Regions from separate parts of the Homo sapiens genome. Here all the other regions are linked to region 3. Evidence: promoter capture Hi-C in 16 types of primary human blood cells and fetal thymus (Javierre and others, 2016). All regions are on one chromosome and are shown on one strand. Each heading gives the region's core, a stretch centred on a gene start or on the middle of the fragment in contact. The rest is flanking DNA. Distances are from core to core; before and after follow the strand shown. Region 1 overlaps RAPH1 (Ras association (RalGDS/AF-6) and pleckstrin homology domains 1). Region 2 overlaps SUMO1 (small ubiquitin like modifier 1). Region 3 holds the start of WDR12 (WD repeat domain 12).

The links. Contacts are between HindIII fragments. The CHiCAGO score rates a contact against its expected background, and 5 or more counts as called.
Region 1: a fragment that was not itself captured here is called in contact with the fragment with the promoter of WDR12 in region 3 in 3 of 17 cell types (megakaryocytes, fetal thymus and erythroblasts); the score reaches 11.5 in megakaryocytes.
Region 2: a contact is called between a fragment that was not itself captured here and the fragment with the promoter of WDR12 in region 3, in 2 of 17 cell types (naive B cells and total B cells). The highest score is 8.9, in naive B cells.

The regions. Positions count from the first base shown.
Region 1 is chr2:203,451,780-203,455,829 of GRCh38, forward strand. RAPH1 (Ras association (RalGDS/AF-6) and pleckstrin homology domains 1) reads right to left here. Exons shown (of 14, transcript NM_213589.3): 9 at 3,658-3,801; 10 at 2,651-2,761. Among named protein-coding and RNA genes, the nearest start is that of RAPH1, 81 kb to the right of the region's middle. The HindIII fragment of the contact is 306 bases long and covers 2,120-2,425 here.
Region 2 is chr2:202,234,305-202,238,288 of GRCh38, forward strand. All of the region lies in intron 1 of SUMO1 (small ubiquitin like modifier 1), which reads right to left. Among named protein-coding and RNA genes, the nearest start is that of SUMO1, 2.3 kb to the right of the region's middle. RefSeq lists a silencer at 3,758-3,947. The HindIII fragment of the contact is 685 bases long and covers 1,899-2,583 here.
Region 3 is chr2:202,910,225-202,914,342 of GRCh38, forward strand. WDR12 (WD repeat domain 12) reads right to left here and starts at 1,449. Exons shown (of 13, transcript NM_018256.4): 1 at 1,212-1,449. The coding sequence starts at 1,252. It overlaps CARF (calcium responsive transcription factor), which reads left to right and starts at 2,051. Exons shown (of 17, transcript NM_024744.17): 1 at 2,051-2,878. RefSeq lists enhancers at 1,632-1,781, 1,792-1,941, 1,982-2,181, 2,282-2,331. The HindIII fragment of the contact is 1,677 bases long and covers 689-2,365 here.

The DNA.
Region 1 (4,050 bases), core at 1,023-3,522, 540 kb after region 3:
ACCTATATCCCACAGGGTGTGAATTCTGACTGGTGTAAGCCAACCATAGTAGTTTTATTCCCTTGTCAGTGATTGGCTTGTCAGCAGAAAATGTACTCTGGGCCAGTAACTCTCAAAAGGAGGGTGGTTGAGTAACTTCTGTGAAATAGTTCCTTCCTCTTATAAAAGACAAATACAGGGAGCAATAATCCCTCTTCTGCTGGCTGGATTTTTCTGGGTCTACATGTGATGCATAGAACTGCAGCAGCCATCTTGGGACTGTGAGGTGAATCAGCCTGAGAATAAGCTGATATGCGGGAAGTAGAACAAGGAAAGATGGAAAGAATTTGAGTTCTCACTGACAACCTTGAGCCACTGAAATAACCAACCAACTTTTACTGTTTTCATGTTATGAGAGTCCCCCAATAACTTTCTTTTACGTGGATTATGTCTACTGATATTGAAGGAGTTAAAAATGTACCACCCTGGCATATTGACTAAGTTAAAAGACACTTGAAAAACAGCAGGTACAGAAGATCACTCTGACCTTCATGCTATTTCTTAAAAGCCTTAGAAGATGAAATTACCATGCAAAAGATGCTTTCTCAATACTAGAAAGCGAAAATATCTTTCTCCTCAGGGATGAGAAGTTGAAACCAACAGAATTCTGTACAGACCTTGTTAAAATAACTCGTATCTTTAAGGCTTCACATATAATTTAGTTGCTTCTTCACAAATTATTCTTTGTCCAATCCAGTATACAAGTAATTATGCTTTTCTCCTGTTGATCTCTTATGTCAATTTAATTTGTGTGCCCAGCTAGGACCCTAAGAGTATGAAGTGAAGTTTTTCCACCCCAGCAATACTTACATTATAAATTAAAACTAAGAAAAAAATTAAACTACAAGAATACACAGGCCAGGCCAGGCACAGTAGCTCACGCCTATAATCCCAGCACTTCAGCAGACTGAGGCAGGCGGATCACTTGAGGCCAGTCTGACCAACATGGCAAAACCTCATCTGTCCTAAAAATACAAAAATTAACTGGGTGTGGTGGCATGTGGCTGTAGTCCCAGCTACTCGGGAAGCTAAGGCATGAGAACTACTTGAACCCGGGAGGCAGAGGTTGCAGTGAGCCGAGATCACATCAGCCAGGGAGACAGAGTGAGACTGTCTCAAAAATAAATAAATAAATAAATAGACAAACACACATTACACTAGCGTGAAGATACCATCACATGTCATATAACCTCTTAGAAAACTCCACTATACATATGTGAGAGAATGAAAGTTCAAGAGGCAAATAACATCTTAGCATTATTAAATAATTTTGACATCATGGTCTTAGGGACTGACTCTCAGGAGACTGTGGACCTCATTTTGAAAACTGCTGAATTAAGCTACTTTGTACTGACTTTTAAAAAACTATTTGCACCTAAAGGTACCTAAAATGATACAGTGGTGTTCCCCAAAAACACAATTATGTAATAAAAGGTTACCATTATGGCCAGGAGCAGTGGCTCTGCCTGTAATCCTAGCACTCTGGGAAGCCTAGGCAGGCAGATTGCTTGAGGCCAGGAATCTGTGACTAGCCTAGGCAATATGGCTAAACCCTGTCTCTACAAAAAAACACAAAAATTAGCTGGGTGTGGTGGCATGCACCTCAAGTCCCAGCTACTTGGGAGACTGAGCTGGGAATATCGCTGGAGCCTGAGAAGTCGAGGCTACAGTGAGCTGTGATTGTGCCACTGCACTCCAGCCTGGGTGACAGAGCAAGACCCTGCCTCAAAAAAAAAAAAAAAAAAAAAAAAAAAAAAGGTTGCTACTACAATGTACTGACTTTATCAAAGCAATCAAAACTCCAAAATCCTAAAATCCTAAAACTCCCAAACTAATGGCAGTCCCCAAACTAAAGTGACAATTCTCAGAGAAAAGTGAAATTAAACATGATATGAACATGTAGACCTAAGTAGTTACCAAGAAATTACAAAGATGGAGCCAATGAAAAAAAAATTATCTCCCTAATTTTCTTGAATTTTTGTATGTCGTTTTTATCAGTGTTCTAATAGATCACTATAAATTTGCTTAAAATGTCCGTTCTTCTCAGAAGTACAGATATAATCATTGCAAGAAGTACAAAAGCTTGAATAAAGAAGAAAAAAAAACCTCCCTAAAAACAGCTCAGGTCACAATACATACATGGGCTATCATGACTATAGTTCAGGGAAAAAAAGAGACAAAAATTATTTCTGGACCAGATAACAGCCAGTCTGATTTGAACTTGGACACAGTGCCCTCTGATGGTTTGCTGAGTAAGTACAGGAAAAGAACTAAAGCACATTTATGACCTACATTCGGCTCTGTTCTAAGTTTTCCTAAAATAAGCCTGGTGTTAAATGAGAATCTCAAATTTATAATCAAATACATTTTATATCTCACAACTCAAAGCTTACAATCTAATATTCACTCCTTACCTAGAGATAATTGGCCCAGGGTCTGCTATGATATAGCACATGCTTCTTTTCCTTACCACACTTCACCATTCCTTTTTAAACTTTGAGAATAAAGCAAAAACAGTATAATTGATGGAATCTCAACAGTTCTAAAATATCCAATAACCTGCTCTATGTCTAACATCAATTAAAATTCCTAAAAAGAAATATGTGTTTACCTTCAGCACCAGACAATAGTCTGTAGGTGCTTTGTATTTGTTCCGATAGTCCTGGCCATAATAAACGTTGACATGATCCAGCTGGAGAAAGCACACCAGATCCCGAGAGACCTAAGATAAAAACACCAAAAAGATAAAATTAATAATAATGCACAAACAAGCAAATATACCTGGTTAACATTTTCTAGGTGAGAATCAAAACTACTTTTGCTAATACTAAATAGAAATTATTGCTATTTACACGAGACAATGAGATGCTCCATAAATGTTTCTTCTTTAATCATTAACGTAACAAAAAAGCAGCCCATTTTACTTACTGTTTTGTCATTCACAATGAACACTAACTTGTTAAGGAGTGTTGGCATTTTAAAGATACTATTAATATAGTCTAGTACATTAAAAACAATAATGTATAATAGAGCTCTCTGGAAAGAACAAGAAAATATCAAGTCGTTCAGTGCCTATAATGCATATGTAAAGTATAGTGATTCGCAACTGGTTGGGGGGAGGTTTTCACCAGTTAAATAGGGGCAACAATATATGCTCATAGGACTATTGTGAAGACTAGATGAGATAATACTGTAAAAAAGTTTAAAACAGTCCTGGTGCCAATAAGCACCGAAGTGATAGCTACACCAGGGTGGCCCTTAGCAGAAGAAGCATATTACCCAAACAAGATAAAAAAGCCTGTAATCCCAGAGAGCTGTGCTGTTCTTCCCAAACAAAAATAAACAAAACTACTCCAGAAAGAGTCCCCAAAAAACAACAAATAAAACTATGATTTCAAATTTGGTAAAGAGAACTGAGATAGGCTCAACTAGTGACCAGAGAAGTAAGAACTTTCAGGTTTCTTCTTCTTTATAATAGATTAATAAACAAAGCAATATTCTATGTCTTCCACGAACTGAAACAAATCATAGCCTGGGTTCACCTTGTCAGCATACTCAATACAAATTAAAAGCAATTAGCATAATGAGGAAGTTCAAATTCCAACAGAAGGGACACACCTTTGCTTTTCCTTTGGGAACATAGTAGATACCAGATGCTCGCAAGAGAAAATAACGCTTTTTCCAGGACTTCTTGCCATCATCCTTCAACCAAAGGACTCCTTCAATTTCTGGTACAGTTACAGAACTTCCACAAAAACATTCCTAAAATAACAAGATTATTTGCAAAGACTTATGATCGTTGGATTCTCAGAACAAAGTTGTGTTTACTCCTGTGAAATGCATGACAGTTATTAAACCAAAATGGTTTTATATTAAAACCAAGCTGCTAATTTAACCTCAATTAGAACTTTCCAGCCAGGTGTAGTGGCTCATGCCTGTAATCCCAGCACTTTGGGAAGCGGGTGGATCACTTGAGGTCAGGAGTTCAAGACCAGCCTGGCCAACATAGTG
Region 2 (3,984 bases), core at 991-3,490, 680 kb before region 3:
CAGGTATGGTGTCATGTGTCTATAATCCCAGCTACTAGGGAGGCTGAGGCAGGAGAATCACTTGAACCCAGGAGGCAGAGGTTGCAGTAACCGAGATCACACCACACTGTACTCCAGCCTGGGCAATTGAGCAATGCTCTATCTTAAAAAAAAAAAAATACGTATGCACAAATACTCACAAAACACTCCATACAATGTAAGCGAACTTTCAGTCTTTATGGTCTATGGGCCTTAGGTTTAGAACTTATTTTAAAGGATTATTTAATAATGGTACACAAATCTACTAGATGATGTTGGAATTGTTAAAATTATAAAGAAGTGGGTTTTTTTGTGTTTTTTTTTTTTTTGCCAGGCACGGCACCTCACGCCTGTAATCCCAGCACTTTGGGAGGCCGAGGCGGGCGGATCACAAGGTCAGGAGTTCGAGACAGCCTGGCCAATATGGTGAAACCCTGTCTCTACCAAAAATACAAAAAAATTAGCTGGGCATGGTGGCTAATTTTTTGTGACTCCGTCTCAAAAAAAAAAAAAAAAAAAAGTTTTTTGTTTTTTTTCCTTTTCTTTTTTTTTTTTTTTTTTTTTTGGGACAGAGTCTTGCTCTGTCGCCCAGGCTGGAATGCAGTGGCATGATCTCCGCTCACTGCAACCTCCACCTCCCAAGCTCAAGCGATCCTCTCGCCTCAGACTCCCAAGTAGCTGGGATTACAGGCATGAGCCACCAGGCCCAGCTAATTTTTGTATTTTTAGTAAAGACGTGCTTTCCTCATGTTGGCCAAGCTGGTCTCAAAGTCCTGGCCTCAAGTGATCCCAAAGTGGTGGGATTACAGGCGTAAGCCACCCTACTCAGCCATTAAGAAGTGTTTCACTCAAATTCCAAAAACAATCATTTTTTCATTAATCAATGGAGGACCCAGCAATTGAAGTCTTGTGTGTATTTAATGTCCACCGATTTTAACCTTGTTATTACTCAATTTCACTATTTTAACACCAGACAATAACCTTCTGAGAGCTGCCTCAGAAAACACATCACTCTAAAATAACTTGATTCAAATTAAGGTTGTCTTCTTAGGACAGTGGTTTAGTCTCATGCTGATATTAAACAGTACAGGATTTGGAGATTCTTGTTCTCACTTATAAACCTCTTAAGATTAAGGGTTCAGCTTTATAACTCTTTTAAGTCTTTAGCACTCAACACTGAACTTGTACTGGGTCTTCTTTGTTTTGAGTCAGGGTCTCTATCGCCCAGGCTGAAGTACAGTGGCATGATCTTGGCTTGCTGCAACCTCGACCTCGCAGGCTCAGGTGATCCTCCCATATCAACCTCCTGAGTAGCTGGGACTACAGGTACAGGCCATCATGCCTGGCTAATTTTATTTTTTGTAGAGACGACGTCTCTCTATATTGCCCAGGCTGGTCTCAAACTGGGCTCAAGCAATCCTCCCCCACTTAGGCCTCCCAAAGTGCCAGGATTACAGGTGTGAGGCGCTGCACCCGGCCAATGTACTGAGTCTTTTTTTTTTTTTTAAACGGAGTCTCACTCTGTCGCCCAGGCTGGAGTGCAGTGGAGTGATCTCCAGTTACTGCAACCTCCGCCTCCCGGGTTTAAGCAGTTCTCCTGCCTCAGCCTTCTGAGTAGCTGGGATTACAGGTGCGCACCACCACGCCTGGCTATTTTTTGTATTTTTAGTAGAGACGGGGTTTCACCATGTTAGTCAGGCTGGTCTAGAACTCCTGACCTCGTGATCCACCCAACTTGACCTCCCAAAGTGCTGGGATTACAGGCTTAAGCCACTGCACCCGGCGAGTCCTAATGATGTTGGTCAATCAGCCTACAGCAACAGTTCTCAAACTTTTTGTTCTCAGGAATCTTACACTTAAATTTATTTAGAATCCCATAAAGCTTTTGTTAGGTTGGTTACATCTATTGATGTTTACAGTATTAAACACTGAAAACTGAGAAATGTCTTAAATATTAATTCATTTTAAAATACCAACAAACCTGTTATATGTTAACAAATATATATTTTTATTAAAAATATTTTTCAAAACAAAATTAATGAAAGAGTGGGACTGTTACACATTTTTGCAAATCTCTTTAATGTCTGGCTTAATAAAAACAGCTAAACAGCTGGATTTTCACATCTGCTTCCACATTTAATTTGTTTTATCACAAGTCATGTTAGTTTCTAGAAACGTCCATTGAACACTCATGAAAGAATGACAGTGAAAAAGACAAATAATGTCCTAGTATGAACATGAAATAAAAGAATCTATTTGTATCCTAGGTCCTTCATTTCTTTATGTATCTCTTAAATAACCTGACTTCAAAATGGAGCAATAAATTCTACATTTTATAATTATTTCTTTATGTTGCTCTTCCATCAGTCTACAATAAATTTCAAAATGCTTCCTAGACGCTTCTGGGAAACAAAATAAAAGGCTGACGAAACTAAGCATTTACGCCTATACTTTTCTTCCTAGTAACCAAGTAAACAACTACCTAGGGAAACACAATGCCCACTTGGGAATTAATCTAGATTATTAGTAAGTAGATCCATCCAAAATTCATCTAGATTATGGTTAAGCTTTAAAATGTTAAGTGTACATTTTGTACAATAGTACCAATCTGCAAAAACCTCACTTGCTCTCACGAAATGGTACAAAACTGGGTTAAAAGCCAAGGGAATAGGTGTGTTAAATTTAAAAGTTCAAGTACATCGTGGAGTTGAATGAAAAATAGTTTTCTGAATAACTACCATTAAATGAGTAAAAGTCCAAAAATAATGTAAAAAGTCAAAGTCGGCTGGGCGCGGTGGCTCACGCCCGTAATCCCAGCACTTTGGGAGGCCGAGGTGGGCGGATCACGAGGTAAGGAGATCGAGACCAGCCTGGCCAATATGGTGAAACCCCGTCTCTACTAAAAATACAAAAATTAGCTAGGTGTGGTGGTGAGTGCCTGGTGGTGAGTGCCTGTAATCCCAGCTACTCGGGAGGCTGAGGCCCGAAAATTGCTTGAACCCAGGAGGCGGGAGGGTGCAGTGAGTGGAGATCGCACCACTGCACTCCAGCCTGGCGACACAGCGAGACTCCGTCTCAAAAAAAAAAAAAAGTCAAAGTCGTCTGAGCAAACAAAAGACCAGACAAAAACTTTATGAATTAAAAACTAGCCATAAAGTTGTTTAATTAGAACAGGATGAGGAAGAAAAGGGGAAATCGATCACTCCTGATTAAGTGCAAATCCCAAGTAAATTATTGATACTAACAGTGAGCTGGAGCACTTTGCCTTACCAGGCAACTTTCTGCAAATATTCTGCAACGACTCTACATACACAAAGTTTTCCTATGCTTTTCCTCAAAAATATGAGACTTCCTCAGGTTAATGCCCAGGTGAGATGCTTTTTGTTGCTCTAGCAGTTTAGTTCTATTTTCTTTCTTGGTTATTATGAATGCTCTCTTACAACTGGAGAGCTAGGATGAACCAATCCCGAGTAAGAAACGGGAAAGTACAGTAAAGAGGCGACAGCTCTGCACCCCCACACGGAAAAAGACTCAGAGGAGAGCAGCGGCATCCTTGCCCTAGCTCCAATCCGAACGGAGGCAGGATTCCCAACAACATCGGACGTCTCCCTCCCTCGCCGCCCCACGCCCTCCCGACGAAGAAGCAAAAAGTGGAGAGTCCAGCCGCTTCTCAGGGCCACGGAGCCTCCCAGTCAGGGATTCTCTCCCGTTACATAACTAAGGCCTAGGGCCCTGCTTCTGCGATTAGTCCTCTGGAAGGAGACGGACGGGTTCTCCAGAGACCCTCCCAGGGAGGTGGAAGCGGGGCTCTGCACCTAGTCGACCCGGGAGAAAGAAGTGGGACGACATGAGGGAGGCCGCCACCAAAGGCGGTGGGGTACGGGGGTGATGAGCGAGCCCGGAGAGGGGCGGGCGGCTCCGGGAGCCCCGCAGCAGGCCCCGGCACCTCCGGCCGTAGTCGGCTCC
Region 3 (4,118 bases), core at 199-2,698:
TCAACAATTATCTCAAGGCTGGACGCAGTGGGTCATGCCTGTAATTCCAGGACTTTGGGAGACCGAGGTGGGCGGATCACTTGAGGCCAGGAGTTCGAGACCAGCATGGCCACCAAGACAAATTCCTGTCTCTACTAAAAATACAAAAATTAGCCAGGCTTGGTGGCACATGCCTGTAATTCCAGCTACTCTGGAGGCTGAGGCGGGAAGATTGTTTGAACCCGGGAGACAGAGGTTACAGTGAGCCAAGATCCCACCACTGCAGTCCAGCCTGGGCAACAGAGTGAGACTCTGTCTCCAAAAAAACCAAACCAAACAAACAAAAAAAAGCCCCACATATTTCAAAAAATTTTATTTTAAGAAAAACAAAAAAACCTACTTTCAATTAAAAAACACAGTGGTTATGTTAATGCATCACCACATTCCTAGAGAAGTATTAAGGCAATGTATGTAAGTAAGTACATATACTCAGGTGCATTGATAATACGATTTATGTATACTTTCAGCAACAACACAAGGGGAGAGAAGATGATTTACTAGCTCTCCTCATAAAGCTACAAACAAAACCACAGATGTAACTCAGGTGGGAGTTTCCTAGTTTATGGCTAACTTTAGCTTATTAACACGACAAATATTATCATTTTCACTGAAAAATTTGACATTTTTTGTTGACTCAGCCAATCCAAGAAGCTTAATTAATATATAGTCCCTGCCCTCAAGAGACTTCCAATATAGTTGGAAGAGACCAGGCAAACACAAAGAAAGCTAACAATGCAATATATACCACAAGGCAGCATATAATTAGTTTTCGAATGAGTGCTAACAGACCTTGAGACCACTGGTTAAAATGTTTATATATCTATATAGATATACATAAATGGTAAATATGTTTTTTCATTTTCAAAAACTTTTTTTCCGTTTTCAAAAACTGTGAACCACCACTAGCAGACACCCTATAACAAGGCCCACTGTTCATTTTTAAATTACACATATAAAATGTTTCATTCAGAAAGCAAACCTGAAGCCCTTCAGCCTCCTCCACACTCACAATTCAAATTATATAGAACCTACGAAGCTGGTTAGAAAGCAGGTAATCTCAGAAAAAAGGGTGGGGGTGACAGCAGAAACAACCAGGGATCCACAAGGTCATACCAAAGGGGTGGTCGGAAAGGAACCTGGGGAAGGGAGAGAAGGCTGGAACGCTTACTTACTTCTTGTTATCAGTGTAGAAGCGTGTTTGGAGCTGAGCCATGGCGAGGAGTACACACGACTTGCCCACGGAAACGTACGGGTTAGCAGACCCACAACACGAAGCTCCTGCCTTTTAAGACTACAAAGAGGCAGCTCAAAATTAGACTGCACAGGTAAGCGAGGAACTGCAGTCTAAGCCTGGACTCTGCCTTCTGCCCTCCGGTCTCCTCTGCAGAAAGCACGAGGTTGCCCTTCTACAGACGCCCAGACCACAAACATCGACTACCTACTCCTAGATTTAGGAGTCATCGATTAGAAAAGGATAGTCGTAAAGGTAGCATGTCCCTTTAATCATTGTTAGAATTCTTCCCATACGTGTGGGCCCGTAATCGATTAGGAAAAAGATCCCACTCAAATCCGCTTTATTAATAAAAAATTTTTTTTCAAGAGGCTGTCCTGAGCCTGGATAGTTCAAACACAGCTCCTAGTTACTACAAGTCTCAGAAAGCATCGCTTCTCAAACGCTGTGACCACCGGGAATTGTAGTCTTTTTTTGCCACGCTGCCCTCAGAGTATCTTATTTGCATTAAATCCTCTAGACTCCAGCCAGATATCAAATTTCCTCTGCCTTCAGCTTTGCTTGACTAACGCCTTGCCAGTTTTTTTTTCTCATACATATTCCCAACCAGAGGCTCACTCGGCAGAGGTTTTTCCTAAATCTCGCCTCTAACTGCGGCTTTTAGAGAGAGGCGAGAGGCGGAAATACAAAGAAAAGAACGGATGAGAGAGGAAACGGTCGACGGTGGCCGATAGTGGTCCTACTGTCGTGGGACTGCTCTGCGCGCTCCCGGTGGGGCGCGCCTGCGCATTATGCTGGTCTCCATGGCGGGGCCTCGGAGCCAAGACGAGGTTGAGTAGACTCGTTTTGAATTTTCTCCCCTCTGCTCCGGCGGACTTCCCATGTCGCCTTGTGGGGCTATCGGCGGCGGCAGGACTGGGGGAGTCAGAGGTCTGGCAGCGCTGTCTGCGCAGACCTACCGGACGCTACCTCCCAACCCCCCGTCTTCCTCCTGCCTCCTCCTCCTCCCGTCACCTCCTGACCCGCCGGAGCTCCGAGCAACTGCCGGCCTCCGCCCCCAGCCGCAGCCGGTCACTGGCGGCGCCTTCCGCGCCAAGCTTGGGGGCCTTTTCGGGGTCCCACATGGCACGGCTTCCGACCCCCGGCCCGGGACGGGGCTCGCAGGCCCCAGAGGGGCAGGCTGGAGAAGGAGGAGGTTAGGTGTCTTCAGGAGGGTTGCTGAGCCCAAGGACGCGCCATCGCCGCGGAGAAGGAGCCGGACCCCTTGGGCGGAGCGCCCAATGTGTGGTCCCTCACGCCGTCCCGCACCTTGCTTTTTAGGGTTCTTTTTCCGCTTTCTGAGCCCTTTTATACCTTACGTTTAGAAGGGGAAAATCATCCTCCCACACCTTCTCCCCGACTTTTTGCCTTTTTTGTCTTGAAGTTACCCAAAGGCCTGTGTATTGTTCTCAATGGTCCCAAGAATTACTCTAATATAGTTGTTTTTCTGAGGGAGGATGGATGGAGATAACTATCCTGATCCCAATGTCACTTTTTAAGGCATTCGCTTCAAGAGACAAGCAGTTTAGAATCAGGCAGAACTGGATTGCAAAATTTATGGGCAGACCGGTATGTGTGCAGGTGAAGACAAAGCTTTCCTTTTTTACGTTGTTTAAAGATGTCCTACTGTAAGGTAGACGCCTAATGTTTAAATGAACGCCTAATATTTAAATAGAGAATGAGAAGAGATTTAAACAATTGGAAGAAAAAATAATTTTTATTAGAGAGCAATGACAATAAAAGTAGGACTCTTTTCAGTTTACTCACCTTTGTAGCTCCGAATCCGGGCCCTGGAACCAGAATTCCTGGGTTCAAATCCTGCCTCTGCTACTTGATTAACCTTTTTGTGCCACACTTTTATCAACTATAAGAATTAACTGCGGCATCGGAAGCACTCAGTATATGTTAATTATTATCATCAAATAGTTACTAATTCCAGTTTAACTAGAAGCTTTGCCAGCGTGAATAGATAAGGGAGAATAGCCACATTGAGTGGAGGAATAAAATTAGAAAACCTCTGTGCTGAAGTCCCAGGAGATCACTTATTAGGCTTGAGCTTGCTAATGGAAGTGGTGATCGTTTAACCATGTGGTTATTGTAGTGGTGAGGATTTACACATTAAATAAGTCTTGGGCATCTGAAGCTTGAAACACTTTCTTAATGAAATCTTGCCGTTGAATCTGTACTTACTGGTAATATGTCATTGGTTAAAATATATTTATAAAATGTATAATTGACCAGCAGGTTAATACATTTTTATCATTAATTTGAAATTTATCAAAATGAGAATATACAGTACCTGACAGTAGAGTTTGATCTTAATTTGATTTGAAAATTATGATCAGGAAAATAACCTGAATATATGCTTAATAATATAAGACTTTCAGTTTGCAAAACAGAAATCCTGACTTGACTAAAATACACTTTTCATTTGACGGAGACCTTTAGTTAAGGAAAGATTAGTTTTAGCATTCAACATAACTAAATACCCAGCATTATGTTTTACGGTTTTTTTCAACAATGATTTATGTGTCGTGTTTGGTGTTGCCTCCAAACAGTACCTAGGATAGCTGATGCTTTTACTTTGAGTCTTTTTCTTTAGTTGGAACATTAATTGCAAGCTTTTGGTTGGTAATCATTTTTTATGGGATGTATTTACTATATGGTCCTCATGGAGACACATTGTTATCTGGAGAACCACAGTTTGGAAAATACATTTCTCTTTATTATAAAGTTTTTTGTTTTATATATATAATGCCACAGTGTGATAGGATACAAAGACTATGCATTAGGGCTTTGGAGTCTTAAT